Regions from separate parts of the Homo sapiens genome. Here all the other regions are linked to region 3. The links are contacts of gene promoters, found by promoter capture Hi-C in blood cells and fetal thymus (Javierre and others, 2016). All regions are on one chromosome and are shown on one strand. Each heading gives the region's core, a stretch centred on a gene start or on the middle of the fragment in contact. The rest is flanking DNA. Distances are from core to core; before and after follow the strand shown.

Region 1 (7,537 bases), core at 3,678-6,177, 280 kb before region 3:
CCTGGGATGCAAGGCTGGTTCAATATACGCAAATCAATAAATGTAATCCAGCATATAAACAGAACCAAAGACAAAAACCACATGATTATCTCAATAGATGCAGAAAAGGCCTTTGACAAAATTCAACAACCCTTCATGCTAAAAACTCTCAATAAATTAGGTATCGATGGGGCGTATCTCAAAATAATAAGAGCTATCTATGACAAACCCACAGCCAATATCATACTGAATGGACAAAAACTGGAAGCATTCCCTTTGAAAACTGGCACAAGATAGGGATGCCCTCTCTCACCACTCCTATTCAACATAGCGTTGGAAGTTCTGGCCAGGGCAATTAGGCAGGAGAAGGAAATAAAGGGTATTCAGTTAGGAAAAGAGGAAGTCAAATCGTGTCCCTGTTTGCAGATGACATGATTGTATATCTAGAAAACCCCATTGTCTCAGCCCAAAATCTCCTTACTCCTGTTAATCTCAGCCTCCCGATCAGCTGGGACTACAGGCATGTGCCACTACACCTGGCTAATTTTTTATTTTTAGTAGAGATGGGGTTTCACCATGTTGGACAGGCTGGTCTTGAACTCCTGACCTCATGTGATCTGCCCACCTCAGCCTCCCAAAATGCTGGGATTATAGGCATGAGCCACCACCCCTGGCCTTTTTCTTTTTTCATTTCAAATTGTTTGTGGATTTTTTTGTTTATTTTTCATAGCAATACATTTTTAAGACCTTCAGAACACAAGCACATGGTATTATATTGGGGTCAAACTCAACATATACATTTCTTTAAAGATTATTGACTTCCCAATACTGTTGAATTCTCCTACCCAAACATTTGGTGGCATTATTTTTCATTTGTATAAATCTATTTTCATGTTTTTCAGAAATCTTTCCACCAATTTCTTACTAAATTAAACACAATTTTCTGTAGAATTCTGCCAATTTTTTTTGCATTGATGAACATAGTCACATGACATTCTCATTCAATTAATGTGATTAATTTCATCATTGAATTTCTTAATATTGAATCATACTTCCCTTTATAAGATAAAGGGTGATTGATTATGCATCAATATACTGATGCAATGGTTTCTAATATTTAATATTTTCACTCTTAAATTTGCATGTTCTATTTGTCTATAGTATTCCATATGGCTAAATCTAGGCAAGGTTCGAGTATCACCTTTATAAACCCTTCCTAAAAAGTATTTCAGGAAAGATTGACCACACTATAACTCTTGAGAAGTTTAAGTAGCATTGGTTTATGGATTACTTTATCGGTAGAATTTCCCTTTCAACTACATAAACTTGGTGTTTGTGTGTGTGTGAGGAAATTCCTTATTAAATGTCTTTGTTTCTTCTATGAATATTGCTCAGTTTAGAGTCTATCTCTATTGAGTTACATTTTGATAAAACATATATTCCAAACACACACACACACACACACACACACACACACACACACACATACATATGCAGTCTACATGTGTGTATCAACTTGCATTGAATTACACAGATGTCTCTATTTTCTTGGTCAATATTGAACCTCACGTTCTTCCTGGCACTGTAAACTGTTGACAAATACTTCTCAAGTTACTTGTGTGATCCCATTTCTCTATTTATAATTCAATGATTGTTCATTTAAAGAATTTGGGGAGTAACAGAAAATGAGAGTTTCAGCAAAAACACATCCCAGGAGGCACAGAATCCAGCACCCACCGCGCTTCATTGTCATCCCCTTCTGTCTCCGACTCCGCATTTTCTGCTTCCTCCAAGATAGCCCCTGTCTGCCTCAAAGGATCATGGAAAAGCAGAGCCTCTCCAGGCACTGCCATCTCTCTGGAGGTGCTGCAGGGAAGTTGTCATTGTTTTTGGTAATTGTAACTGGGACAAAGGTTTTCAAAAATATTTTCAATTCCCCAAGTGTGTACTGTCATTGCTGCCACAGGTAAAGTATAATTGCAGTGCGGTGGGGAGGTGAGGTCGCAGGGTCCCGAGCCCATATCTCAGACCTGGCCGCCTCCCTCCACACACTCCCTGGCCGTGACAGTCACTGGTTTCCACAGCCCAGCAGCAGGGAGGCGCCTGGTGGGTGTGTTACATTTTGATCTGTGAGAGAGCACCTGTAAGGTTAGGAAGTTGTCAGGAGGTGGGGTAAATGCTCTGGTGTGGAAAGAGGACTCCACTGGGCCAGAAACTGACCAGTGTCAAGGCCATGTGGGGAAAGGAAATAATGGCTGGGTCATGGGCTAAGTTGTGGAGAGGGAGCAAAGTTCCAAGAGCATGAGCCAGTCCCCAGCTGCAGCTCACTTAACAAAATCCTCATGCTTGTCATTGTCGGTTTTTGATGGAAGAAGCCAAAAATCTGTTTTTAAGTTTTTTTTTTTTAATTTAAGACGGATTCTTGCACTGTCACCCAGGCTGGAATGCAATGTTGCAGTCTCAGCTCACTGCAACCTCTGCCTCCCAAGTTCAAGCAATTCTCCTGCCTCAGACTGCTGAATAGCTGGGATTACAGGCGCCTGCCACCACGCCCGGCTAATTTTTTGTATTTCTAGTAGAGATGGGGTTTCGCCATGTTGGTCAAGATGGTCTTGAAGCCCTGATCTCAGGTGATCCACCAGCCTCGGCCTCCCAAATTGTGGGGATTACAGGCCTGAGCCACCGTGCCTGGCCCCCAAAATCTGTTTTTGTTGATCCTTCTTGTCTAAGATCTCCTTACCTGTTAAGTGGGAAGAATGCATTTTTTAAAAAAGTTTCCTAGAATAATTTGGAAATTAATCCGCTAGCTGTTCTATCAATTCCACAAGAATCAGAAAGATTTCTAGGATGAATGGAAGCATTTCTACAATTCCTTCATGCCTGTGATAATGTATAAGATGTAGCTGATTAAATTATCTTATTCTTCTCAAAAGTATTAAACATAGGGCTTTAACCTACTCTGGACATATAAAGTACCTAATGGAGACCGTGATGTGTGGTGACAGGAAACATCTGGTCTCTGAGAATGACGAAAAGACCATATTCTTTCATGAAGTCAGGGGAGGAGCGGTCAAGGAAAGGTATCTTGATGACCTTAGGTTTTCATATTAGAACAAAAATCAAGGACTTCAGTCGTTTTCTGAAGTAAATTATTTGGTAATATTTACTCTGTCTTCAAAAATGTTCTGAAGCCATTCTTAGGCTCAATACTCATCTTAGTAACACTTAATTCAGTGAATAATTTTCCCTACCTCGAGTTTTCCTTTTACATAACAGACTTATATTTTAATATACCTAACAATTCTGACATTGAAATAATTTTTTTTTTGAGATGGAGTCTTTCTCTGTCACCCATGCTGGAGTACAGTGGTGGGATCTCAGCTCACTGCAGCCTCCGCCTCCGGGGTTCAAGCAATTCTCCTGCCTCAGCCTCCCAAGTAGCTGGGACCACAGGTGCATGCACCACCATGCCCAGCTAATTTTTGTATTTTTAGTAGAGATGGAGTTTCATCATGTTGGCCAGGCTGGTCTCGAACTCCTGACCTCAAATGATTTGCCCACCTTGGCCTCCCAAAGTGCTGGGATTATAGATGAGAGCCATGGTGCCCAGCCTGAAATAATTTCATTTGATATTTTTGTATTCATAAACAAATACTAAATTTATCTGTAATTCATGACAACCTGTTTCTCCTTTGCACTGTTTTATCTCCTACTCATGTCCCTTGACCCCTTGCTTAGCAACAGTCATTTCTGTATCCTTCTTGGTTAAGATGAGAAAGAATCTTCTTTTTTAATTTCAGCATGAAATCATTTAAGCATTCAATAAATATCATTTGGTCTTGTATGATTATTCTTTTAGGATTATACTAAATCAGTGCATCTATATTCTACTTGGATTTCTGAATCATTATAGGTGATATTTGCTCATGAAATAAGCACTTAGATTTAAATGAGAAATTGCCACAATCAAAAATGAAGAAAAAACTACATCCAGGTTTAAAGAAAGCGACAATATATACAACATGAAATGTGTGAAGCATTAAAAAAATACTATGTCCAAGGGTGAGACACACAGTGATTAAACACATTGTCCAATTTTGATTCTGCCTCTTACAAAGCAGTTACTTTAGAAAATTCATTAAGCTTCCTTGTGTAAGATCTTCTTACCTGTAAAATGGAAATAGTAAAGCACTTATACCACAGAATTATTGTAAAAGTTACATGCAAAACACTAATATAGTACTCCTCTCATGGGGATGCATATGTTCTTCTTTTTAGAGCAAAACTCTTATTTAAAAAACAGGGTCTAATAAGAAAATGTCTAAGTTGGAAACAATGGTAAGTGTACAATAGTGGATTTTATTTGCAAAAGTGAAACTTTATGTTTCCACACAGGGTTCTCTCACTTTGAATGTAATTATCAGTCACTGAAAAATGACAAATGGCCTCCAAGGATTTTGCAATAGGCATGATCTTATTATCTCAGATCATGGTCGGATTCCTGGGGAATTTCTTTCTTCTCTACCACTATAGTTTCCTTTGTTTCACCAGAGGTATGTTACAGTCCACAGATCTGATTCTCAAGCACCTGACCATAGCCAACTCCTTGGTTATACTCTCTAAAGGAATCCCACAAACAATGGCTGCTTTTGGGTTGAAAGATTCCCTCAGTGATATTGGATGCAAATTTGTGTTTTATGTTCACAGAGTGGGCAGGGCTGTGTGCACTGAGTGTCTTCCAGGTCATCACCATCAGCCCCAGTGAATTCAGGTGGGCAGAGCTGAAGCTACATGCTCACAAATACATCAGGTCTTTTATCCTGGTCCTGTGCTGGATTCTGAACACGCTGGTAAATATTACTGTTCTTCTACATGTGACTGGCAAGTGGAACAGCATAAATAGCACAAAGACAAATGATTATGGATATTGTTCTGGAGGAAGTAGGAGCAGAATTCCACATTCATTACATATTGTCTTGTTATCATCCCTTGATGTTTTGTGTTTGGGGCTCATGACCTTGGCCAGTGGCTCCATGGTTTTTATCCTGCACAGGCACAAGCAGCAGGTCCAGCACATTCATGGGACCAACCTCTCCGCCAGATCCTCCCCTGAGTCCAGAGTCACCCAAAGCATCCTGGTCCTGGTGAGCACCTTGTGTTACTTTACTCGCTCTCCTCCATCTTTACATATGTCTCTTTTTCCTAATCCCAGTTGGTGGCTGTTGAACACCTCTGCACTGATCACTGCCTGTTTTCCCATGGTCAGCCCCTTTGTGCTCATGAGCCGCCATCCCAGGATACCCAGGCTGGGCTCTGCCTGCTGTGGAAGGAATCCACAGTTTCCTAAGCTGGTCAGATAGTTCTCCGATTTATGTGGATTGTCTTCTTTTTGTATAATGAATGGCCGTTTGTTGATTTCTTCCTGCAGGTTAAGCACCGCAATGGGCAGTCAATTGCAGTGTATATAAGACTCAGAATCCGTCTTTGCCCTTCAAGGATTTTTCACGTATCATAAACAACAGTTACAGATGAAATGTTTTTGCAAAGTGCTTTCATAATTTTCATTTTGTTTGTAATTTCATAATTTTCATTTTGTTAATGTTGCAATGGAGAAGTTAAGAGGCAAATTATTAATTAAAAATGGGCCTCTAATAAGTTGGAACAATGCAACTTTAAACCAATTAATAAAAAATGTCATGGAATTAACTGGGCACAGCAGTGTAAGAAAAGTTTGATGAAATAAAGAAGCTTAAGTAATGATCAATGAAGAAAGTGAGAAGAAAGTCATAGTTCATGTCCTTTTTTGTTTTGAATTAATCTTCATTTTTTCCTATTTTCAAGTTGTAAAATTTTCTTTTTGTCCTTGATAATTATACTTTATTGAGACTAGTTTTGGTTATTTTTTAAAAATTCTGTCCCTCTATAATTTTTCTGATGTGTAGATCCTGTATTCATGCTTCTTATATTTGTTCGTTTAAAATGAAAAGTTTATTTGCTGACTACACCAAATAGGATGCAAGCACTGTCATGACAGAAATATGCAGCAGATCAACATACAACAGTAATTTAGTTTAAATGAAGGGAAATCTGTAAATGTTACGACAACGTACTCCCAAGAAGAACCCTTTCTTCAGTTAAGTTAATTATACATTTCAATAAAATAAAGGGTAATGGATTAGTGGAAGTTAGCTTGTGAATTTTTCTTAAAAATAAAACTCCAACTCTATTAATCCATGCCAGTTAAACACTGTAACTAAAATTTCCAAATAAGCACAAAAGGAGATGAAGCAATTAGTTACCTTTTCTGCTTGAACGGTCTGGAGGAAAATGGTTACTATAAATACAGCAGGCAAACTGTTAGAGTGACCTATCTAGAACATAGTGTACTAAATTTCAGTCTCAAATTGTACTAAATGCTCATCATTAGTATGGCACATTTGGTCCATGATGTGGTTTAACGCCAAGACAGATCCCAATTTGTTACAGAAACACATAGATTACTGTTGCTTTTTGTTTTTAAATACATATATTTTAATAAGCCAGGTATACTTCCACATACAAAGGCAGGTTTCCCAGGAGAAATTTATAGGAAGTAGTCTGGGGTGTGCTGTGTAACATGAGGCTCGCCACAACAAAGTGCTGGGTCAAACTGAAGGAAGGAATATCTTAAAGCGTCATCTAGTTCCATGATCGCAGCCTGGTTACCACAACAATAACAGTAATTGGGTGCACTGAAAATAGTAACCACATTCTGATCATGACACCAATGGTATCCCTCCATTACAAGCTGGTGGGCACGAGAAACCAGTGTGAGACCATTGGCATGGTTAAAGGTTTCAGAAATGTCTTGTCCAAATGTGTAGCCAGCACACAGGGTGAAATACCCCATCCACCACGATCATCTGGATCTGACCGTAATAGATCATACATTGGGCCCTCATGTGGAACTTCTTGTAAATGACCCAGGGCTCTTATATGATCCAGTGTGTATGTGGATGGAGACAGGCCACCATGGAGGCAGAATATCTGTCCATCTACTAAAGTTATAAGTGGAAGATAATCAAAGAGATCTGTAAAGTATTTTCAAACATTGGCATTCCCATACTTTCGCGGACATTCATCATAAAAGCCATATACTTGGGTAATTTGTTGGCTTTTGTGATTTCCTCTCAATATTGTAATGCATTCTGGATAATGAATGCTACAAGAAGAGTCACAGTCTCCACTGAATAATATCCTCTGTCTACATAGTCACCCATTAATAAGTAGTTTGTATCTGGTGATTTTCCACCAATTCTAAAGAGTTCCATAAGATCATGTAATTGACCATGCACATCTCCACAGACAGTATCAGGGCAACGAACCTCTTGCACATCTGATCCTTTTGTTAAAATTTCCTTTGCCTTCTCGCACAATTTTTTGTGGGAGGAGAGTGGTCCATTTCAAATATTTTAAGGTAAAAATGGATGCAGTGGTCTGGGTGGAGTGAAATGAGCACAGGACTGTAGAAAGAGGTTTTCATTAGAATTTGACTCACAGCCGATGAATATGAGACTCA
Region 2 (7,003 bases), core at 1,984-4,483, 280 kb after region 3:
ATCTCCCAGTCCCACCTCTCCAAATTTCCTTCCTTGTCTACACAGACAAATTATCTCCGTCTGAGCTCCTCCAATTTGCTTCGCTCACCACACTCGAAGAAACTTGCTACAGGATCCGCCCTCCTGAGAAAGTTGTGGGAAGAACAAGAATAAAATACTGTTTTTCCATTGCACTGGATTGTCAAGAAAAGTTCCTGTGATCCTGTCAGGCCTCTGAGCCCAAGCTAAGCCATCATATCCCCTGTGACCTGCATGTATACATCCAGATGGCTTGAAGCAACTGAAGATCCACAAAAGAAGTGAAAATAGCCTTAACTGATGACATTCCACCATTGTGATTTGTTTCTGTCCCACCCTAACTGATCAATGTACTTTGTAATCTCCCCCACCCTTAAGAAGGTACTTTGTAATCTCCCCGACCCTTAAGAAGGTTCTTTGTAATTCTCCCCACCCTTGAGAATGTACTTTGTGAGATCCACCCCTGCCCGCAAAACATGGCTTTTCACCCCCTATCCCAAAACCTGTAGGAACTAATGATAATCCACCACCCTTTGCTGACTCTCTTTTCGGACTCAGCCCGCCTGCACCCAGGTGAAATAAACAGCCTTGTTGCTCACACGAAGCCCGTTTGGTGGTCTCTTCACATGGACACGTGAGACAACCCCAGCTACCCAGGAGGCTGAGGTGGGAGAATCACTTGAGCCCAGGAGATTGAGGCTGCAGTGAGCTGATTGCACCACCGCACTCCAGCTTGGGCAACACAGCGAGACCCTGTCTTAAAAAAAAAAAAAAGTAAGAAAAAAAAGTTCCACCTGAGTGTCATCCTCAGCCATCTGGTTAAGCCTTTGGGTCTGGAATCAGACTAAGGGCACTAAAATCCTAGGTCTACGCCGGGTGTGGTGGCTCACACCTGTAATCCCAGCACTTTGGGAGGCTGAGGCAGGTGGATCACCTGAAGTCAGAAGTTTGAAACCAGCCTGGACAATATAGCGAAACCCTGTCTCTACCAAAAATACAAAAATTAGCCGGGAATGGTGGCACATGCCTGTAATCCCAGCTACTCAGGAGGCTGAGGCAAGAAAATCACTTGAACCCAGGAGGCGGAGATTGCAATGAGCCAAGATCACACCACTGCCCTCCAGCCTGGGCAACAGAGCAAGATCTCATCTCAGAAAAAAAAAAAAAAAGAATAAAAATATCCTAGGTCTATAAGTATGCCCTTGAACAACTTACTCTCTGGACCTCACTGTCCTCATCTGGAAAATGGGGGCAATAATTGTACTAACATCTTGGGGTGATTGTGATAGTTAAATGAGATAATAATAGATGTCAAAGTGCATGTAGTCAACATTCGCTGTAATCATTCTACCAACTGTGTTGGGTTGATGGATGACCTGGCCAGCGCACCCTCGATGACACACAGAGGTAGGTGGCTGAAAGCTGCCTGTCGCTCAGTGGGAAGCATTCTGGATGCTTCCCTTGCCACCTCAGTTGTCCATGCAGCAGGCCAAATGTCTGGCAGGCCAAGGAAATTGTTCTACCACAGGCTTTGTGAGTCCCAGGTGTTTCGACCAAGGTCACACAAAGAGCATGGTTGGCCACAGGTGACTTGCAGGGCAGCGACAGCCATTTCACCATCTCTAAGTTCTTGCCTCCCAACCTTGAAAGGAGGAGTTGCTCAGGGCCTAACCTGAGCAGGGCAGGAAACAAAACTACTAATTCCTGGAATAGGCTACTTGGTACTCAGTAAATCTCATGTTCTACTTGTTCTGTTGTTTTTCCCCAAAAGGCCCTAACTGATGTGTGACTTAACAGAGTTTTTGTAAGGGTTAAATTAAATAATGCATGTGAAAAGCTTAGCACAGTGCCTGGCATGTAAGATGCGCCCCCACCGGCAAAGATGATTATTTGTATTGGTGGAGACTAAGGTTCAACTGTTGTAATAAGACCCAAAATCACAGAGGCTTAGCCCAGACAGTCCTGTGATGGCCCCAGCATCAGCATTTGGGGGTTACGGAGGCTCCATGGTGTTGGAGATCCAGGCTCCCTCCAGCAGGTTGCTCTGCCATCCTGAGGGTTTTGTCTTCATCCGCCTGGTCAAAGACGGCCCAGCGCCAAGTCCACCCTCGGGCTGACAGGAAGGATAAAAAGAAGTGGTGCCTGGCAGGGAGTGGTGGCTCACGCCTGTAATCCCAGCACTTTGGGAGGCCGAGGCAGGCGGATCACCTGAGGTCAGGAGTTCAAGACCAGCCTAACCAACATGGTGAAACCCCATCTCTACTAAAAATACAAAAATTAGCTGGGTGTGGTGGCACATGCCTGCAATCCCAGCAACTTGGGAGACTGAGGCAGGAGAATCGCTTGAACTCAGGAGGCAGAGGTTGCAGTGAGCCGAGCTCAAGCCACTGTACTCCATCCTGGGCAATAGAGTGAGACTTTGTCTCAAAAAAAAAAAAAAAAAAATTGAGGCCAGGCACGTTGGCTTATGTCTGTAATCCCAGCACTTTAGAAGGCCGAGGCAGGCAGATCACTTGAGCCCACGAGTTCAAGACCAGCGCAGCAACATGACACAACCTTGTCTCTATAAAAATTACAAAAAAAAATTAGCTGGGCATGGTAGCATGTGCCTGTGGTCCCTGCTACTTGGGAGGCTTAGGTGGGAGGATCACCTGAGCCTGGGAGGTCAAGGCTGCAGTGAGTCAAGATTGCACCACTTTACTCCAGCCTGGGTAACAGAGCAAGAATCTGTATCAAAAAAAAAAAAAGCCAGGCACAGTGGCTCACACCTGTAATCCCAGCATTTTGGGAGGCCGAAGTGGGTTCACATGAGGTCAGGAGTTCGAGACCAGCCTGGCAAACATGGTGAAACCCCGCCTTTACTAAAAATACAAAAATTAGCCAGCCATTGTGGCGGGCGCTTATAGTCCCAGCTCCTTGGGAGGCTGAGGCAGGAGAATCGCTTGAACCTGGAAGGTGGAGGTTGCAGTGAGCCAAGAGCATGCCACTGCACTCCAGCCTGGGTGACAGAGTGAGACTCTGTCTCATAACAAAGAAAAAAAATGGTGGGAAGGCCCCTTTCCTTTAAAGGTGAGACCAAATGTTGCACACATCATTTCCTTCACATCTCATTGGCCAGGACTTAGTCACATGGCCACACACAACTGCAGTGGTGACTGGAAAATGTGATGTTATCCTAAGTATCTGTGTGCTAATTAATGGGGTTGCATTACTAAAGGAAGAAGAGGAAAGCACATGGGGGCAACTAGCTCTCTCTGCCACATATCATTATCATTACTCTAAGCACGCTCTGGATGAAACATCTTGTACAATTTGACAAAGTAACTATGGTCCTTAGGCATCCTTGACCTGATATAAGTATCATTACTGTCACATTCAGCTCAGGGCCTCTCTATTCAGAGCTTTACAGGCCTTGGGGTTTGGGGAGAGGCTGCAGATTCAACAAGAGCTTTCCTCCAGAAAAGTTTTATGTGCCTTAAATAAAGTGGGAAATTGAGGGAGAGGGGGGCTTCCTGGTTCCACATGAAGGAATACAGAGGTTGGAGAAAGGGTGGAGGCAAAGCCCTGAGGGGAGGCAGGCATCTCTCACTCCAAGGGGCTCCTCAGCAGAGGAGAGAGCCATGGTTAAGCTAAATAGCAACCCCAGGAACACCTCAGCTGTACTTCAGCTACTGGGGACCACAAGCAAGAGATGGACCCAGCTTGGAGTCTAGAGAGAGTCAGGGCATTTCCAACCACATATGGGTACCAGTCATGTGGAACCCCTGCCATCCCTTCAATTCTTTCCTCTCAATCTCTCACCCTGGGGGAGCCACAAACAGAAGGAAGAGAAAAAGGAGGAGAAGTAAAAGGGTGGATCACACACCCTGGCCCCTCAAAGTCCCTAGAGCTAGCATTAAACTGTATATGGTGTGATGACTTGGAGATTATGCCCATCTTTCCACTAGACTCTTCATTCAACAGGTATTAACTATGTGCCAGGTGCTGCTCCAGGCTCAGGGAAATGGATGTGAACGAGAGAGGAAACCTCCCTACCTTTAAGGAGCTTACGTTCTTGGGGGGTGATAAACAATGGCTGCCTTGAGAGCAGTGACTATGTCCTGCTCATGGCTTTATCCCAGGACCCAGCACCTTATCTGGCTGGGGCTCACTGAGTGTTGCTTAGATGAACCACATCACAATTGAGTTTGTGTGGACACTTGTGGTTATCTCCCCAGCATCCAGTTTCCCCCTTCCCAGCGACTCTCAATTTCCACTTGGAGGACTACGTGGTTTGGGAAGAACTGACTTTGCCCCAGGTCTGAGGGTGGAGCATGTGAACTACACTAAGACAATCCAACTATTCTATCGCTCTGACATAAGTCGTTGGTTCAAGTGTGGGCATGTGTCTAATCAAAGTGGATCTCAGGACAAAGATGTTTTTTCTCCTCCTAGTGTGATGTAAAACCTGGAACCACTGCAGCTATTTTTGCTACTGTGGTGCTGGGATTACAGATGTGAGCCACTGCACCCGGCCAAAAATTTTTTTAAATTTAAGAAAAGAAATCAAGGGAGATAAGAAATGATTACTGTTGTTTTAAGCCTCTAAGCTTAGGGTCATTTGTCATGCAGTTTCAGATAATTATTAGGTGGGTGCAAATGTAACTAAAGTAATTAAAGTCATGGCCAAAACCGCAATTACGTTTGCATCAAACTAATAGTACAATTGACTATTGGGTGTGTCTGGAATACCATCCTTCTGCTTCTTTTTGTTTTCCTTAGAAACTCCTACTTGCTCTCCAAGGGCCAACTCAAGTTGTCACCTCTTCTGAGAAGCCTGCCCTAATTTTCCTGCTTAACCCCAAGCTCTGTTACACACAGCTCTATTAGCAGTCCTCACACTGTGATCTTATTGTTTATGAGGTTATTTCTCTCACTATAGCTTTTTGAAGGCAACAATTTTGAATTATCCAAATGCATACGCCTAAGACTGAGCATGGTATGTGCTACATTAAAAAGGAGTTTGATGAAGTTTGGTTGAATAAATAAATAATGGAAACTTCAGCTGTGGACAAGACAAAGAATGCTGGCGGGGTGCGGTGGCTCACGCCTGTAATCCCAGCACTTTGGGACGCCAAGGCGGGCGGATCACAAGATCAAGAGATCAAGACCATCCTGGCCAACATGGTGAAACCCCATCTCTACTAAAAAATACAAAAATTAGCCGGGCATGGTGGCGAGCACCTGTAGTCCCAGCTACTCGGGAGGCTGAGGCAGGAGAATCACTTGAACCCAGAAGGCGGAGGTTGCAGTGAGCTGAGATCATGTCACTGCACTCCAGCCTGGGGGACAAAGCAAGACTCCGTAAAAAAAAAAAAAAAAAAAGAGAGAGAGCGCGCACAAATTCAGATGTAGTTATAGACATGCAAATTAACTGGTTGATGTGAACGACACAGCTAATAAGGTAGCATTAATAGATGTATGTCATGCCTGTAGTGCCAGCTACTTGGAGGGTCAAGGGCAGGAGGATGGCTTGAGCTTAGGAGTTCAAGGCTGCAGTGAGCTATGATGTACTGCACTCCTGCACTCCAGCCTGGGCAACAGAGCAAGATCCTGTCTTTAAAAAAAAAGATGAATAGGCTGTGTGTGGGTGTGTGGTGGCTCACGCCTGTAATCCCAGCACTTTGGGAGGCCAGGGAGGATGGATCACTTGAGGCCAGGAGTTTGAGACCAGCCTGGCCAACATGGCAAAACCCCATCTCCACTAAAAATACAAAAATTAGCCAGGCATAGTAGCACATGCCTTTAAGTAATCCCAGCTACTTGGGAGGCTGAGGCATTAGAATCGCTTGAGCCTGGGAGGCAGAGGTTTCTGTGAGCCGAGATCGCACCACTGCACTCCAGCCTGGGCGACAGAGCAACACTCTGTCTCAAAAAAATAAATAAATAAAGCTTTTTAAGCACTAAAACTCATTTCACAAATACCATTCCAATTTCATGCCACAGAAAGGCAGAAATGATACATACCACATCCCTGATTAAGGTAAAATCAGAAATGATAGATTAAGGTAAAAACAGAAAATACTGAAAATATAACTAAAAGTGCCTAATTCTTGAAAATTGAAAATGTAGAACAAATAGTCAATACATACTATAATGACATACTGTATTTTACAATAATAATAATAATACATAATAAAAACTGACACTGATTGAGAATTTACTCTGTGCCAGACATGGTTCTAAGTGATTAGCATGTGTTCACTCACTGACCCTTCATAGAAATCCTATGAAGAAGGTATTCTAGCCCCATTTTGCAGATGAAGAAACTGAGGCACATGGAAGTTATGTAACCAGGCTGGGTGCAGTGGCTCACACTGGGACTTTGCGGGGCTGAGGTGGGAGGATCACTTGAAGCTAGGAGTTCAAGACCGATAATATAGCAAGACCTCTTCTGTTGTGGGAAGCCCGGAACCCCTAATGGAGGGACCAGCTGAAGCCATGGCAGAAGAACATAAATTGTGAAGATTTCATGGACATTTATTAGTTTCCCAAATTAATACTTTCATAATTTCTTATGCCTGTCTTTACTGCAATCTCTGAACATAAATTGTGAAGATTTCATGGACACATATCACTTCCCCAATCAATACCCTTGTGATTTCCTATGCCTGTCTTTACTTTAATCTCTTAATCCCGTCATCTCGTAAACCGAGGAGGATGCATGTCACCTCAGGACCCGGTGATGATTGTGTTAACTGCACAAATTGTTTGTAGAGCATGTGTGTTTGAACAATATGAAATCTGGGCACCTTGAAAAAAGAACAGGATAACAGCAATGTTCAGGGAATAAGACAGACAACCTTAAATTCTGACTGCCGGTGAGCCAGGCGGAACAGAGCCATATTTCTCTTCTTTCAAAAGCAAATGGGAGAAATATCACTGAATTCTTTTTCTCAGCAAGGAACATCCCTGAGAAAGAGGATGCATCCCTGAGGGGAGGCCT
Region 3 (7,639 bases), core at 3,373-5,872:
CTGTGTTGCCCAGGCTAGTCTCAAATGCCTGACCTCAAGTGATCCTCTCAACTCAGCCTCCCAAAGTGCCAGGACTACAGGTGTGAGCAAATTGCTGAGTCTTGATGAGGGTAAGGGTCATGTTCCAGGGTCAAAGTCCAGCTGAGAGTCATCGTGAGGATCAGAGTGGGGGTCAGTGTCAGAGTGAGGATAAGGAGTGTGAGGCAAACATTCAAAGCCTGGGTCAGGGCGAGGGTCAGAGTCAGTTTCAGGGTCAGAGTTCATCACAGAGTGAGAAAGACTTAGTGCCAGGGTCAGGCTGAGTGTGTAGTTCAGGCTCAGCATAAGTTTCAGATTCACAGCAGGTTCAAGGACATGGTGAAGGTATGGATAAGGGTCCTTATAGAGTCAGGGTGAGGTCAGGATCAAGGAGACCATAAGGGTCAAGTCAGGGTCAGTGGAAAGTAAGCAGCAGAGTCAGGGTCAGGTAAGGGTCAGATTTATGGTCATGATGAGGGTTATGGTGACATTAAGATTTCCAGGCCAGGGGAGGGTCAAGTTGAGTGCCACTGTAGGGTTAGCTTCAATGTTCGGTTGGGATTAAGGGTGATGCTAAAACTGAAGGCAAAAGTGAGGGTCCGGGTCAAGTACAGAATCAGGGTCAGGGTGAGAACGAGATAGAGTGTGTAAGTGACAGTCAGGATCAGGGTCTGGTGAGTGTCACAGTCAGATGCAAGGTGAGAGTGAGCACCAGGGTAAGGCTCAGGTGTGAAGGAGGGGGTGGTGTCAGAACGAGAGCAAGGTCAGAGTCAAGGTGAGAGTGTATGCTTCAGGGTCAAGAGTCATGGTTAAAGGCCAGGTGCAGTGGCTCACACCTGTAGTCCCAGTGCTTTGGGAGGCTAAGGTGGGAGGCTTGCTTGAGGCCAGGGGTTCAAGACCAGCATGGACAACATAGTGAGACCCCATCTCTACAAAAAATACAAAAAAAAATAGCCAGGCATAGTGGCATGCACCTGTGGTCCCAGCTACTCAGGAAGCTGAGGTAGGAGGATCGCTTGAGCTCTGGAGGTCAAAGTTGCTGTGAGCCATGCTGGCACCACTGCACTACAGCCTGGGTGACAGAGCAAGACCCTGCCTCTTTAAAAAAAAAAAAAGTCATAATTATGATCACTGTCTAGGTCAAGTTGAGGATCAAGGGTCAGGGTCATAGTGAGGGTCAGAGTCAACATCATGCTAAGGGAAGGGTCAGTGAAGGTCAATTTCAGGGTAAGGGTCAGGGTAGGATTCAGGTTGAGGGTCAGAGACAGGGTGAAAATTAGGATCAGGTAAAGTTTAGGGTCCAATTCAGCATCAGGATCAGTATAAGAATGAGAATGAGAGGCAATGTCAGTGTGAGAGTCAGGGTCATTGTGAGGGCAAGGTGTCCATTATGATCAGGGGCAAGATGAAGCTAGAGGTGAGGCTCAAGTTCAGGGTCAGCTCTAGGTCAGGTTCAATATGAGGGTGAGGATAAGGGCAGGGTTATGGCTATAATGTTTTACCATTTATTTACAATCTTATTTCTAGTATTAATTCAGATACTGCTAAGCAAAAGAAGGTTATTCTTACTAATTCTAATTTATTTTCCTTCAGGAACAGTAATGGATTTGGGGCACTCTCTGCTTTAGTTATTTTATTTTTATTATTATGAACCATCAGGTTCATATCACCGTCTCTGAAAAATCAAAATATCCCCAATTTTACTTCTTGTAGATTTATAACCAGTCACTTCGTTGATAGTAATATGAGAGCAGAAAGTGCAGGTAACAGATTTTTCTGTCTTAAAAATATTTTTTGCAGCTTCTCAATTGCACAAGCTTATGGAATGGTCGGAATGGAGTTTCAATGTTGAACTTCCCAGTGAGAATCTTTTCTACCTTACACCTGTAATTGGTCATTTTCCTTTGAGCACCTGAGAAGTGCTTAGCTCAGCAGCTCCCATAGCTGGATAGTTATAAAGGTATGGAAAATTCCTCTTCATGAATTGAGCCAAAGCGGCTTCTAACATTCTTTTCAGCTAAGCTGAAAGACAAATACAGTGGTCCCTCCGTATCTGTGGGTTCCGCATCTGTGGATTCAACCAACCAAGGATGGAAAATATTTGGGGAGAAAAATGGATGGTTGCCTCTGTACTGAACATGTACAGGCTTTTTTTCTTGTCGTTACTCCCTAAATAATACAGTGTAACAACTATTTGCACAGCATTGACGTTGTAGTCGGTATTGTAAGTAATCTAGCCATGATGTGAAGTCCACGAAGAGATGTGCGTGGGTTACATGCAAACATTTCGCCATTCTGCATAAGGCACCGGAGCGTTGTGCTGTGCGCTCTCCTAGCGTCCCCCACTCACTTTCCTCCACCCACACACACCAGGCCAGGTCTCTCTTGCAAAGGTGAGGCTGCCGACTACTGTCCCGCCTGAGCGGGCTCTGGTCCTCACTCACAGACTGAGATTTCCTGAGAGGTGCCGTGGAGAAGGCCCCAGACTCTGCCTGGACCACCGACCCCAACCCAGAGGAGCTCGCCGCCTGCTTCCCTGGGAGGCGCCACTCTCCCAAGCTGGATCTAGGGCCGACCACACCCCAGGGTTGGAAGCACCGCTGGGGACACTGAGCGGGTTCCCTTTCCACCCTGATCCAGGCTGCAGAGACCTACAAAACAACAGTCGGTTCACAAGTCCCAGAGGAAAGCTTGCTGGAGGTTGGAACGAGGAGCAATCCCTCTGGGCCCCAAACTTTTCCCGCGTTAGAGAGAACACCGAAAAGGTCCAGAACTGCGCCCTCCAGCTCCCCGCGCGCACCCTGAGCCGCGTCTGATTGCTGTGCGGCGCCTCCTAGCCGCGCCCCCGCCCCGCGCACCCCCGCCCCCGCTCAGCACCCCGGGAACCCCCTCCCCCCGCGCGCCCCCGCCCCGCGCACCCTCCCCCGGAGGGCCCTCCCCTCTGCGCGTGGAGGCTTTTCCTGGAGACTGCGCCGCGGGTCTAACACCTTCATTTCGTTTTTAAAAAGCTCTTGAGTCTGGCCCGTCCCTGGTTCCGCCCAGAGCCCTAAAATAGAGGCTTCGAGTCTGGAGGTCTGGGAGAAAGGGAGCTAGACCGGGAATTGATCTGAGAAGCTTGGGGTGGGGGGAAGGCGGATTCCTCTGCTTCCCAATCCTGGCATCTGCGCCCAGGGATGTTGGAGCCAAAGGGAAGTGGCTTCCCCTCCTGAAATATAAGGGGCGCGCTAAAGGGTTCCCAGGATCCCTTCCAACTCTAAATTCCTGCGATGCCTGGGGCTCCGGGGAGGTATTTTGCGGTAGTCAGAGTCCGAAGATCCTAGAATGTAGTTTGAGCTGGGGCTAAGGACAGGGGATTGAAAAGTCGAGGCGGTGGACCTGGCGCAGGATGAACAAGACTGGGAGACTTCCAACAGTTTCCTCCTCGACAAGCAGGTCACAGGACAATGTCTGGAGGACTTCTATCCCCCTTTCTTGTTTCTGCCACCCCCTCCCCTGCAGCTCTGCACTCTCTCTAGTCCCGCCTTCCTGGCCCTCGTTCAGCCTGTTTTAGTTTAGAATCGCTGCCCGGTGGTCACTCAAGGCTGCTAACCTCTGCTGTAAGGAATTAAGCTTCCAAGAGCATATCTAAGAAGGAGGGCGGAAGGAAAGGGACCGAGTGCCTCCACATGTCAGGACAGACCATGAAAGAGAAGCCAGGAAGTCCAACAAAACCAGCACTGGTCTTTATTGAGGTGTCAGGGTAGAGTGGCAGGAGCACAGCCTAAGGACATGAAGGTCAGAGTTTCTCAGAGAGGAGGGGCTGGGTCCCTGAGCTAGGAGGAGGGCGGTGGGTGACTCGGGAGCTCATGAGACTTCAGGAAGTCCCTGTACTTGGCCAGGAAAGGGTTGGCCAGAGTGTTCAGCTCTTGCCGAAGCTCCTGCAGAGCCTTGTCTCGCTCTTGGGGCTCCCCTGTCACCTGCTGCCTGTAATAGTTGATGTAGAAGTTCATCCAGTCCTCCACCACAGTCACCATGTCTTCTTCAGAGACGAGAGGATCATTGAAGACCTGGGGGGTTGCGGAGAGGCAGTTGGCAAGGGAGAATGTGGTCAGCAATGGGATTCGGGAATACTAGAATAGTGCCACAGCACCAACTCTCACATTCTCTTTCCTCTGCATTGTATCCCGTGTCTCTCGTTGTTTCCATCAACTCCACCATTACTTCACCAGCTCCAATTATCCTCTTCCTCCACTTCCCCGGCACCCCCCAGTCTCCAGGCCAGTCCTTTGAAATGGAAAGCTTGGACTCACCTGCTGATTCAGCAGAACGCTGAACTCCTTCAATCCTGCGGAAATGAGATCCTTATTGGCCTTAAGAAGAGCCATCTGCCTGGGTAGAGAAAAGGGTAGAATTTACATATCTGTTTCCCTCCTCACTGGGTATTTCCCCCAACCCACTTCCTCCCCTTAAAAATCCCTCCTGCCCTGCAGGGCTATCTCCTTTCCAAAACCTTTCACATCCTGCCCTGCTCTGAGGTCACGATTTTCCCAGGTTGGGCTCACCTTCAGGTCTAACAGGCTGTATATGTCTCACCCACACTCTTGAGGGTGCGTGAATCTCTCTGTGCCAAGCTATAGATGTAGGCAAGGAGTCAAGTGTCAGCCTAAGATAGAAACGCCCTGCATCTAGGTCCTGAAGGAGGGTGATAGGTCATTCTAGGGAGGAGAAGAAGGGAGAGGCTTCCCTGAAGGTAGAAAGATAACAAGGCCAAAAAAAAAAAAAAAAAAGATAAATGAGGAAACCCAGGAAATGCAAGAAGGCAAGAGCCAAACCAGGGGCATGTTCCTGCTTTTTGCCCCATATTTCAGTATCCAGGCTCGAAATGCTATGGAAATTGACGTTTACTGAGCCCTATTACATGACAGAGGCTTTTGTGTAATCACAACGATGTGATCGCAATGATTCTCCCAATTCGGAGATGATGTATTAATAGCAGCTTGCATTACATTTATTCATTTGTGCCAAGCACTGTTTCAAACATGTACAAAATATTTATCCTATAAAATTTCTTTTTAGACACATTTTGCAGATAAGCCACCTGTAAGCGTGTGGACTGAACTCCACCACGCTGTGCTCCATAAGAATGGAGATAAATAGCCGGGCGTGGTGGCGGGCACCTGTAGTCTCAGCTACTTGGGAGGCTGAGGCACGAAAATCGCTTGAACCCAGGAGGCAGAGGTTGCAGTGAGCCAAGATCACACCACAGCACTCCAGCCTGGGTGACAGGGCGAGACTCCATCTCAAAAGAAAAAAAAGAATGGAGATGGATTTGTCTTGTTTACTACCCTGTCAACAGGTACCCAATAAAGCAGAAATACTCTTTTTCCTCTTTTTAAATATTTTTCCAGATATTTTCCATTTTCAGTAGATGTTTCTCAAATTTCAAAATCACTATATACTAATTGAAATAATTAAAACAATACAAAAACGTACACTGAAAAACTGAATCATTTTTGCCCCCTCCAAAGTAACCAGCATTAAACATTGTATATTTCCTGTCACTTTTTTTTTCCATTCAAAACCCAACATTCATAGGTGCCTATACACTCATAAAGCTTTGTTGATTTGCCTTTTTGGTTGTAGCATTTTTTAATCAATATACAGCAAAACTGACTTCCTTTTGGTGTACAGTATATTAAATTTTTTTTTTTTGAGAGGGAGTCTCCCTCTGTGGCCCAGGCTGGAGTGCAGTGATGCGATCTCAGCTCACTGCAAACTTTACCTCCCAGGTTCAGGCGATTCTCCTGCCTCAGCCTCCCAAGTAGCTGGGATTACAGGCGTGCATCACCACGCCTAGCTAATTTTTGTATTTTAGTAGAGATGGGGTTTCACCATGTTGGCCAGGCTAGTCTCGAACTCCTGACCTCAAGTGATCGACCCACCTTGGCCTCCCAAAGTGCTGGGATTACAGGTGTGAGCTACCGCATCTGGCCTAGTTTATTAATTTTATAACAGATTTGTGTAACTACAAACGCAGTTAAGATACAGAATGTTTCTGTCACCCAAAAACCACTCCTTCACGTTACCCTTTTGTAGCCACCCCTACCCTCACCCATAACTTCTGGCAACCACTTATCTGTTCATCACTACAGTTAAGCCTTTTTCAGGATGTCATATAAATGGAATCATACAGTATGTAACCTTTGAGACTGACTTTTTTTGGTCAGCATGATGTTCTTGAGCTCCATCCAAGTTGTCACAAGTGTCAGTGGACACATTGCATTGTATGGATGCACTGTAGTTTGTTCATTCAGCCACGGAAGGACATCTGGATTGTTTGTACTTTGGGGCAAGTGTGAATAGAGTTGCTATAAACATTTGTGTACAGGTTTCCATGTGAACATGTTTTCATTTATATAGGGTGGAAAGTATGTGTTACCGGCCAGGCACGGTGGCTCCCATCTGTGATCCCAGCACTTTGGGAGGTCAAGGCAGGCAGATCACTTGAGGTCAGGAGTTCGAGACCATCCTGGCTAACATGGCGAAACCCCCTCTCTACTAAAAATACAAAAATTAGCCAGACATGGTGGCATGCACCTGTAATCCCAGCTACTTGGGAGGCTGAGGCAGGAGAATCGCTTGAACCCAGGAGGAAGAGGCCGCAGTGAGCGAAGATCACGCCACTGCACTCCAGCCTGGGTGACAGAGTGAGACCTTGTCTCTAAATAAATAAATAAATAAATAAATTTATTATCTTACAGACTTAGAGGTCAGAAATCTAAAATGAGACTCACTAGGCTAAAATTAAGTTGTCCTCTAGGCTGTGTTCCCCTTGGAATCTCTGAAAAAGAGTTCTTTTTCTTTCCTCTTCTAGTCTATAGAAGAACCCACATTCTTTCACTCCTGGTCCCTTTCCAGCTTGAAAGCCAGCAATGACCACCAGGTCCAGTCTTTCTCACATCACACCAGGCCGACTGTCTCCTACATCCTTTCACTTCTAAATAATTTTTCTTAAATATTTCTTTAAAAATAATTCATTACCAGATGGGAAAGATCAAGATCCCAATGCCCTTCCAAAGCTCATTAAGGAAAAGTTTCAGGAAGGTCTCTGGTACATGCCAGGAAACTCAAAAGAGATGGTGCTGCCTCAGATGGCTTAGAAGACCATGCTGCCAAGAACACATCTAACATTGAAGCCACGCACAGTGGCTCATGCCTGTAAGAGGCAGAGACGGCAGGATCGTCTGAGCCCAAGGGTTCAAGACCAGCCTGGGCAACATAGTGAGACCCCATCTTTTAAAAAAAAAAGGAAAAAAAAATCTAATTTTGTTCATTCCTCAAAATTTCCTGGCACAGTTGGAACTAATCTAACTACCTGGACTATAATGAATTGCAGAGTAAAATTAGTGAGATGTAGTGAAGAATTGAAGTCTCCTCCCTCAACCAGTGTCTTGAGAATAGCAGGGGAAACTGATTCCCTTTCAGCATGCTAGATACATCAATAAAGGAAGGGTTGAACGTGAGATTACAAAAACACATTTGCTAAAGAATTGTAGAAAACCAGGATCACAAACTCATTCTGCAACAGAAAAATAAAGCACTGCTGATTTACAGAGGAATTCACTTCTGGTGATGTCTCTTA
Region 4 (7,571 bases), core at 4,545-7,044, 310 kb before region 3:
GAGAAACCCCATCTCTACAAAAAATACAAAAATTGGGTGGCTCGTGCCTGTAATCCCAGCACTTTGGGAGACTGAAGCGGGAGGATCACGAGGTCAGGAGATTGAGACCATCCTGGCCAACATGGTGAAACCCCATCTCTACTAAAAATACAAAAAAAAAAATTAGCTGGGCATGGTGGCAGGAGAATCCCTTGAACCCAGGAGGCAGAGGTTGCAGTGAGCCAAGATCGCACCACTGCACTCCAGCCTGGCAACAGAGCAAGATTCTGTTTAAAAAAAAAAAAAAAAAATTAGCCAGGGCAGTGGTGTTCCCCTGCAGTCCCAGCTACTCCGGGAGGTAGAGGTAGGCGGATTACTTGAGCCCAGGAATTAGTGGCTGTGGTGAGCCACAGTCACACTACTGCTCACCAGCCTGGGTGACACAGTGAAACCCCCATCTCTAATAAAAAAAAGTAATAAAATAAAATTAGGTAATTTATTTTTTATGATTGTCAGGAACTTTTATATAGTTATAATGTACAACATAGTATTTGAAATATGTATATTTTGTGGTGTGGTTAAATCAAGCTACTTAACATACGCAGTACCTCACATATCATTTTTCTTTTGGTGTAAGAATACTTAAAATCTACTCTCAGCAATTTTCAAGAACGCAGTCCAGTACATTGTTGTTATCTGTAGTCACCATGATGTATATTAGATTTCTTGAACTTATTCCTCCATTCTAACTAGAATTTTATATCATTTGACCAACATTTCCCCAATCTTCTTACCACTTACTGCTTGGTAACCATCATTCTATTCTCTGCTTCTATGAGTTTAACATTTTAGCTTCCACATATGAGTATCATGTAATGTTTCTTTCTGAGCTGGGCTTATTTCACTTAACATGTCTTCCAGGTTCATCCACATTGTAGCAAATGACAGGATTTCCTTCTTTTTAAAGGCTGAATAGTATTCCACCATGTATATATACTAATACATACCCCTTTTTTTTTTTTTTTTGAGATGGAGTCTTGCTCTGTCAGCCAGGCTGGAGTGCAGTGGCTCGATCTCAGCTCACTGCAACCTCCGCCTCCCAGGCTCAAGTGTTTCTCCTGCCTCAGCCTCCCGAGTAGCTGGGACTACAGGTGGCACCACCATGCCCTGCTAATTTTTGTATTTTTAGTAGAGACAGGGTTTTTGCCATGTTGGCCAGACTGATCTTGAACTCCTGACCTCGGGTGATCTGCCTGGCTCTGCCTCCCAAAGTGCTGGGATTACAGGCGTGAGCCACCATGCCCAGCCCACTTTTCCTTTATCCATTCTTCTGTCAATGGACACTTAGGTTGATTCCATATATTGGCTATTGTGAATAGTGCTGCAATGAACATGGAATGCAGAGATCTCTTTGGCATACTGACTTCATTTCCTTTGGATATATACTCAGTAGTAGGATTGATGATTCAGATGATAGTTCTATTTTTATTTTTCTGAGGAAACTTCATACTGTTTTCTGTAATGGCTACACCAGTTTACATTCCCACTAACAGTGTACAAGGGTTCTTTGTTCTCCACATTCTTGTCAACAATTGTTTTCTTTTGTCTTTTTGATAATAGCTATTCAACAGGTGTGAGATGATGTCTCACTGTGGTTTTGATTTGCATTTCTCTGATGATTAGTGATGTTAAGCATTTTTCATATACTTGTTGGCCATTTATATATCTTCTTTTTTTTTAAGTTGACATATAATAACCATACATATTTATGGGGCATATAGTGATGTTTCAATATATACAATGAATAGTGATCAGATCAGGATCATTAGCATATCCATCATCTTGAACATTTATCATCTCTTTGTGTTGGAAGCATTCAATATCCTCCTTCTAGCTATTTGAAACTACATTGTAGGGGTTCAGTCAGGATGGTGGGAGAAATTGTAAAATAAATACAAACCTTCTTGGAAGGCCAGAAGGTTTTTGCAAAAGCCTCGGGATAGAGTTATGGCTGAAGGCAGCCTAATCCTCTTTGAGCTATAGCAAGGGTAATTAACATAAGAATGTAGAGGAATCCATCTAAATAGTTTGTTTACTTGGGTGGTCCTGACTAACCTTTGACCATCCGGGAGTGCATGATTGCCCTCTACTCAGTGGGTCAGTAGCCTGATTGCTCTCTACTCAGTGGGTTGTTATCAGTAATTACCTTCTAGTGGTGTTTACTTGAGACCTTTGTCATTTAATGTGTGCTGAATAAATGCGGGCAGGGCCAGCGAGTCGAGGCCGTGGCTGCAACTCTTTACAGACTCTCCTTGGAGTCTGTAAGTGGCCCGGACCCTCAGCTGGACTGACAAGCATAATATCTGTGTCAATGTATGTTATTCATTCTTCGTTGGGTCAGGGTCTGCAGGACAGACCCCCGCACTACACAGCATATTATTGTTATCCCTAGTCGTTGTACAGTGCTATAGAACACTATATGTTCTATCCTTTAACAAATCTCTCCCTATCTATCTCCCTTTCCCCTTGTATATATTCTTTTGAGAAATGCCTTTTCTCGTACTTTGTCCATTCTTTTTTTTTTTTTTTTTTTTTAGATGGAGTCTCGCTTTGCCACCCAGGCTGGAGCACAGTGGCAAAATCTTGACTCACTGCAACCTCCGCCTCCCAGGTTCAAGCATTTCTCCTGCTCAGCCTTCTGAGTAGCTGGGACTATAGGTGCCCACCACAATGCCTGGCTAATTTTTGTATTTTTAGTAGAGCCGGGGTGTCACCATGTTGGCCAGGCTGGTATCGAACTCCTGATCTGCCCACCTCAGACTCCCAAAGTGCTGGGATTACAGGTTTGAGCCACCTGGGATCACCGTGCCCAGCCATACTTTGCCCATTCTTTAACTGGGTCATTTGTTTGCCTGCTGTTGAGTTCCTTACATATTGTAGATATTATCCCCTCATCAGATGTATCGTTGTCAAATATTTTCTCCTATTCCGTAGGTTGTCTCTTCACTCTTTTGATTGTTGCCATTGCTATGTAGAAACAGTTTGGTGTAATCCCATTTGTTGATTTTTGCTTTTCTTGCTTGGGCTTTTAGGCTCATATCCAAAAAACCATTGCTTAGACCAATGTCATGGAGCTTTTCTACTTTGTTTTCTTCTAGTGGTTTTACAGTTTTAGTTCTTACATTTAACTCTTTGATCGACTTTGAATTTATTTTTGCAGATGGTGTGAAAAAAAGTGAAATTTCATTCTTCTGCATGTGAATATCTAGTTTTCCTGACAGCATTTGTTGTAGAAACTGTTCTTTCCCCACTGTGCGTTATTGGCAACTGTGTTGAAAATCAATTGACCATAAATGGGTGGGTTTATTTCTGGGCTATCTATTATGTTTCATTGGTCTATGTGTCTGTTTTTATACCTATAAAATACTGTTTTGATTAGTATGGATTTGTAGTATATTTTGAAATAGGTAGTGTGAGGCCTCCAACTTTATTCTTTTTGCCCAAGATAGCCTTGACTATTTAGGGTCTTTTGTGGCTCCATATAAATTTAGAATTGCTTTTTCTGTTTCTGTGAAAAAACATGTCACTGGAGTTTTGATAAGGATTGCATAGAGCCTGTGGATCATTTTGGGTGGCATAGACATTTTAACAATATTAATTCTTCCAACCCATGATGAATATGGGATATCTTTCCATTTATTTGTGTCTTCTTTAATTTCTTTCATCAGTGTTTTATGGTTTTCAATGTATGAGTCTTTCACTTCCTGGGTAATATTTGTTTCTAAGTATTTTTTTTAATGCTAAGTATCATAAATGGGATAGTTTTCCTGATTTTTTTCCCTGAGATAGTTCATTGTTAATGTGGAACTTTACTGATTGTTGTATGTTTATTTTGTATCCTGCTGCTTTACTGAATTTACCTGTTAGTTCTGACAGATTTCTTGAAATTCTTTCTTAAATGGACACATAATGAATGTACTTACTTACGGGGTAGAATGCAGTGTTATTCATAAAATCAAATGAACTAGCATGCCTCACACATTTATCATTTATTTGTAGTAGAAACATACAGGATGTATGATGCCAACAATAAGGTATTATATATCTCAAAAAGCTAACAGTTTTTTTGGTAGAGACTTTAGGGTTTTCTATGTATAATAGCATGTCATCTGCAAATAGCAACAATTTCACTTCTACCTTTCTAACTTGGATGCCGTTTATCTCTTTCTCTTGCTTAACTGCTCCGGCCAGAACTTCCAGTGCTATGTTGAATGGAAGTGGCAAGAGTAAGCATTCTTTCTTCATTCCTGCTTCTAGAAGGAAAGCTTTTAACTTTTCACCATTAAGTATGATATTAGCTATGGGTTTGTCATATATGACTTTTATTGTGTTGAGGTACATTGCTTCTATACCTAATTTGTTGAGAGCTTTTATCATAAAGGATGTTAAACCTTGTTAAATGCTTTTTATGCATCTATGGAGATGATCATATGGTTTTTGTCCTTCATTCTGTTACTGTAGTGTGTATTACATTTATAGATTTGTGTGTGTTGAATCATCCTTGCATCTCTGTGACAAATTCCATGTGATCATGGTGAATAATCTTTTTAATGTGCTGTTGAATTTTGTTTGCTAGTATTTTGCTGAGGATTTTTGCATTTATGTTCATCAGAGATATTGGCCTGTAATTTTCTTTTCTTGTAGTATCCTTGTCTGGCTTTGGCATCAGGGTAATGCTAGCCTCATAAAACGAATTTGAAAGTATTCCTTCTTCTTTAATTTATTTGAAGAGTTTGAGAAGGTTTAGTTTTTAAAATGTTGGTAGAATTCTTCAGTGAAGCCATCTGGAAACTGGATTAACTGGGATAGGACTGGAGCCTGAATACAAAGGAGCTGGTCTAGTGCTGGGGTGGCCCTAGGTCTGCAGGGTCCTGGGGCCTGGGTCTACCAGGGATAGCCGGAGCCTGTGTCTGCAGGGGTAGTCCTGGAGCCTCAGGTTGCAGTGACTGACCTGGAACTGGAGTTCACTTGGGTGAGCATGGATCCTGGGTTCACTGGAGTCTGAAGTTCGTGGGACTAGACTGAAGCCTAAGGCTAGCCTGGTGCTGGGGCAGGCATAGAGCCTGGGTTTGCAGGGGTGTGTCTGGAGCCTGGGATTGTGGATACTGGCCTGGAGCCTGGTCCATAGGGGATAGTCTGGAAGCTGGGTATGCAGTGCTGGCCTGGAGGCTAGGTCTTCGAGGGGTGGCCTGGGTCATGGGGCCATGGAGGCAGTCCTGGAGCCTGTGTCCATGGATGCCAGGTTGGTGCGTGATGACAGGGTGCCAACTTAGGGCTGGGGCAGGCTGAAGCCTGGGGCTGAAGGGGTGAACCTGGCTCTGGGCTTGGCTGGACCCTGGAGTAGTCCGGGAGGCTGGTCCATGGGTACTGGCCTGATGATGTAGGGCTGTGGAGCCAGCCTGGTGCTGGGGCAGATTGAAGCCTAGTGCTGGGAGTGGCTCAAAGTCTGGGTCAATTGGGGCTGGCCTGATACTGGGGAAGGCCCAGAGACAGTCTGTGAGGCTAGCCTGGAGCCTGAGAATGTGAGGAGAGGCAGAGAGCCTGGGTTTGTAGAGGTTGGCCTGTGCTAGGGCAGGCCTGAGGCCCATGGCCACTGGGGCTGGCCTGGTGGTGGGGCTGGCCTGGAGACCAAGCCTTCCAGGAAGGCCTGGAGCTTGAGGATGCAGAATCCAACCCAGTGCCTTGGTGGACCTGGCAGCTCAGTCTGCTGATGCCAGCCTGGACTTTGGGGTCATGGGGGCCTTCTTGGTGCTGGGTTTCACTGGGGTCGGGTAAAGGGCTGGTGCTGGGGTCCAAGGGAGGGTCCAGTGTTCACTTCCCTGTCCCACCTGGTGGAGGTGTCTCTTGCCAGACTGTGCTGCAGAATGTGGCATGTATGCTTAAGAAGAATATATATTCTTCTGCTGTTGGGTGAAAAGTTTTGTATATGTCTGTTAAGTTTATTTGGTGTATAGTGTTATTCAAGTTTCCCATTTCTTTATTAATTTTTTGTCTTCCACGAGTAGTATTCCATGGTGTGTGTATGTGTGACATTTTCTTTATCCAGTCATCTATTGATGGCCACTTAGGTTGATTCCATATCTTTGCTATTGTGAATAGTGCTGCAATAAACATATAAGGGCAGGTATCTTTTTGATATAACAATTTATTTTCTTTTACGTAGATACGAGGTAGTGGGATTGCTGGATTGAATTGTAGTTCTATTTTTAGTTCTTTGAGAAATCTCCATACTGTTTTCCACAGAGGTTGTACTAATTTACATTCCCACTAACGGTGTGTAAGGGTTCTTTTTTCTCTATATCCTCACCAACAGCTGTTATTTTTTGTCTTTTTTTTTTTGTTTTTTTTGAGATGGAGTCTCACTCTGTCACCCAGGCTGGAGTGCAGTGGCACAATCTCAGCTCACTGCAACCTCCACCTTCCAGGTTCAAGCAATTCTTCTGCCTCAGCCTCCTGAGTAGTTGGGACTACAGGTGCGTGCCACCATGCCTGGCTAATTTTTTTTATTTTTATTAGAGACGGGGTTTCACCGTGTTAGCCAGGATGGTCTCGATCTCCGGACCTCGTGATCTGCCTGCGTCAGCCCCCGAAAGTGCTGAGATTACAGGCGTTGAGTCACCATGCCCGGCTTGTCTTTTTAATGATAGCTATTCTGGCTAGTGTAAGATGATTTCTCATTGTGGTTTTAACTCGCATTTCTCTGATGATCAGTAATGTTAAGCATTTTTTCATATGTCTGCTGGCCATCTGAATATCTTCTTTTGAAAAATGTCTATTCATGTCCTTTTTCCACTTTTTTTTTTTCCCCGAGATAGAGTTTTGCTCTTGTTGCCCAGCCTGGAGTACATTGGCATAATCTTGGCTCACTGCAACCACCTCCCAGATTCAGGCGATTCTCCTGCCTCAGCCTCCTGAGTAGCTGGGATTATAGGCATGCGCCACTACGCCTGGCTAATTTTTGCATTTTTCATAGAGACGGGGTTTCTCCATGTTGTTCAGGCTGGTCTCAAACTCCTGACCTCAGGTGATCCACCCGCCCCAGGCTCCCAAAGTGCTAGGATTACAGGCATGAGCCACCATGCCCAGCCTTTTTCCACTTTTAAACAGGACTATTTATTATTTTTTTGTTGGATTGTTTGAGTTCCTTGTAAATTCTGGATATTAGTCCCCTGAAACATAAGTATTTCCTCCCATTATTCAAGTTGTCTCTTCACTCTGTTGATAATTTTGCAGTGCAGAAGCTTTTAGTTTAATTAAGTTCAGTTTGTGTGTTTTTCTTTTTGTTACTTATGGTTTTTTGTGTGTGGTTTTTTTTGTTTGTTTGTTTGTTTGTTTGTTTGTTTGACAGAGTTTCACTCTGTCGCCGAGGCTGGAGTGCAGCTGCATGATCTTGGCTCACTGGAACCTCCACCTCCCAGGTTCAAGCAATTCCCTCCCACGTAGCTGGGATTACAGGCAAGTGCCACCATGCCCAGCTAATTTTTGTATTTTTAGTAGAGACTGGGTTTCGCCATGTTGGCCAGGCTAGTCTT

What was found. Contacts are between HindIII fragments. The CHiCAGO score rates a contact against its expected background, and 5 or more counts as called.
Region 1: a fragment that was not itself captured here is called in contact with the fragment with the promoter of AHSP in region 3 in 16 of 17 cell types (total CD8 T cells, activated CD4 T cells, naive CD8 T cells and 13 more); the score reaches 16.2 in total CD8 T cells.
Region 2: a fragment that was not itself captured here is called in contact with the fragment with the promoter of AHSP in region 3 in 1 of 17 cell types (endothelial precursors); the score reaches 5.1 in endothelial precursors.
Region 4: a fragment that was not itself captured here is called in contact with the fragment with the promoter of AHSP in region 3 in 10 of 17 cell types (M1 macrophages, naive CD4 T cells, total CD8 T cells and 7 more); the score reaches 10.1 in M1 macrophages.

Annotation. Positions count from the first base shown.
Region 1 is chr16:31,805,728-31,813,264 of GRCh38, reverse strand. It overlaps the pseudogene PPP2CBP1 and the pseudogene VN1R3. Among named protein-coding and RNA genes, the nearest start is that of ZNF267, 64 kb to the left of the region's middle. The HindIII fragment of the contact is 1,605 bases long and covers 4,125-5,729 here.
Region 2 is chr16:31,245,892-31,252,894 of GRCh38, reverse strand. No RefSeq gene overlaps it. Among named protein-coding and RNA genes, the nearest start is that of ITGAM, 11 kb to the left of the region's middle. RefSeq lists an enhancer at 6,499-7,001. The HindIII fragment of the contact is 2,752 bases long and covers 1,858-4,609 here.
Region 3 is chr16:31,524,883-31,532,521 of GRCh38, reverse strand. It overlaps AHSP (alpha hemoglobin stabilizing protein), which reads right to left and starts at 4,622. Exons shown (of 3, transcript NM_016633.4): 1 at 4,560-4,622; 2 at 4,308-4,386; 3 at 3,719-4,064. The coding sequence starts at 4,382. The coding sequence ends at 3,831. The HindIII fragment of the contact is 1,316 bases long and covers 4,299-5,614 here.
Region 4 is chr16:31,837,605-31,845,175 of GRCh38, reverse strand. No RefSeq gene overlaps it. Among named protein-coding and RNA genes, the nearest start is that of ZNF267, 32 kb to the left of the region's middle. RefSeq lists an enhancer at 1,496-2,405. The HindIII fragment of the contact is 2,976 bases long and covers 4,307-7,282 here.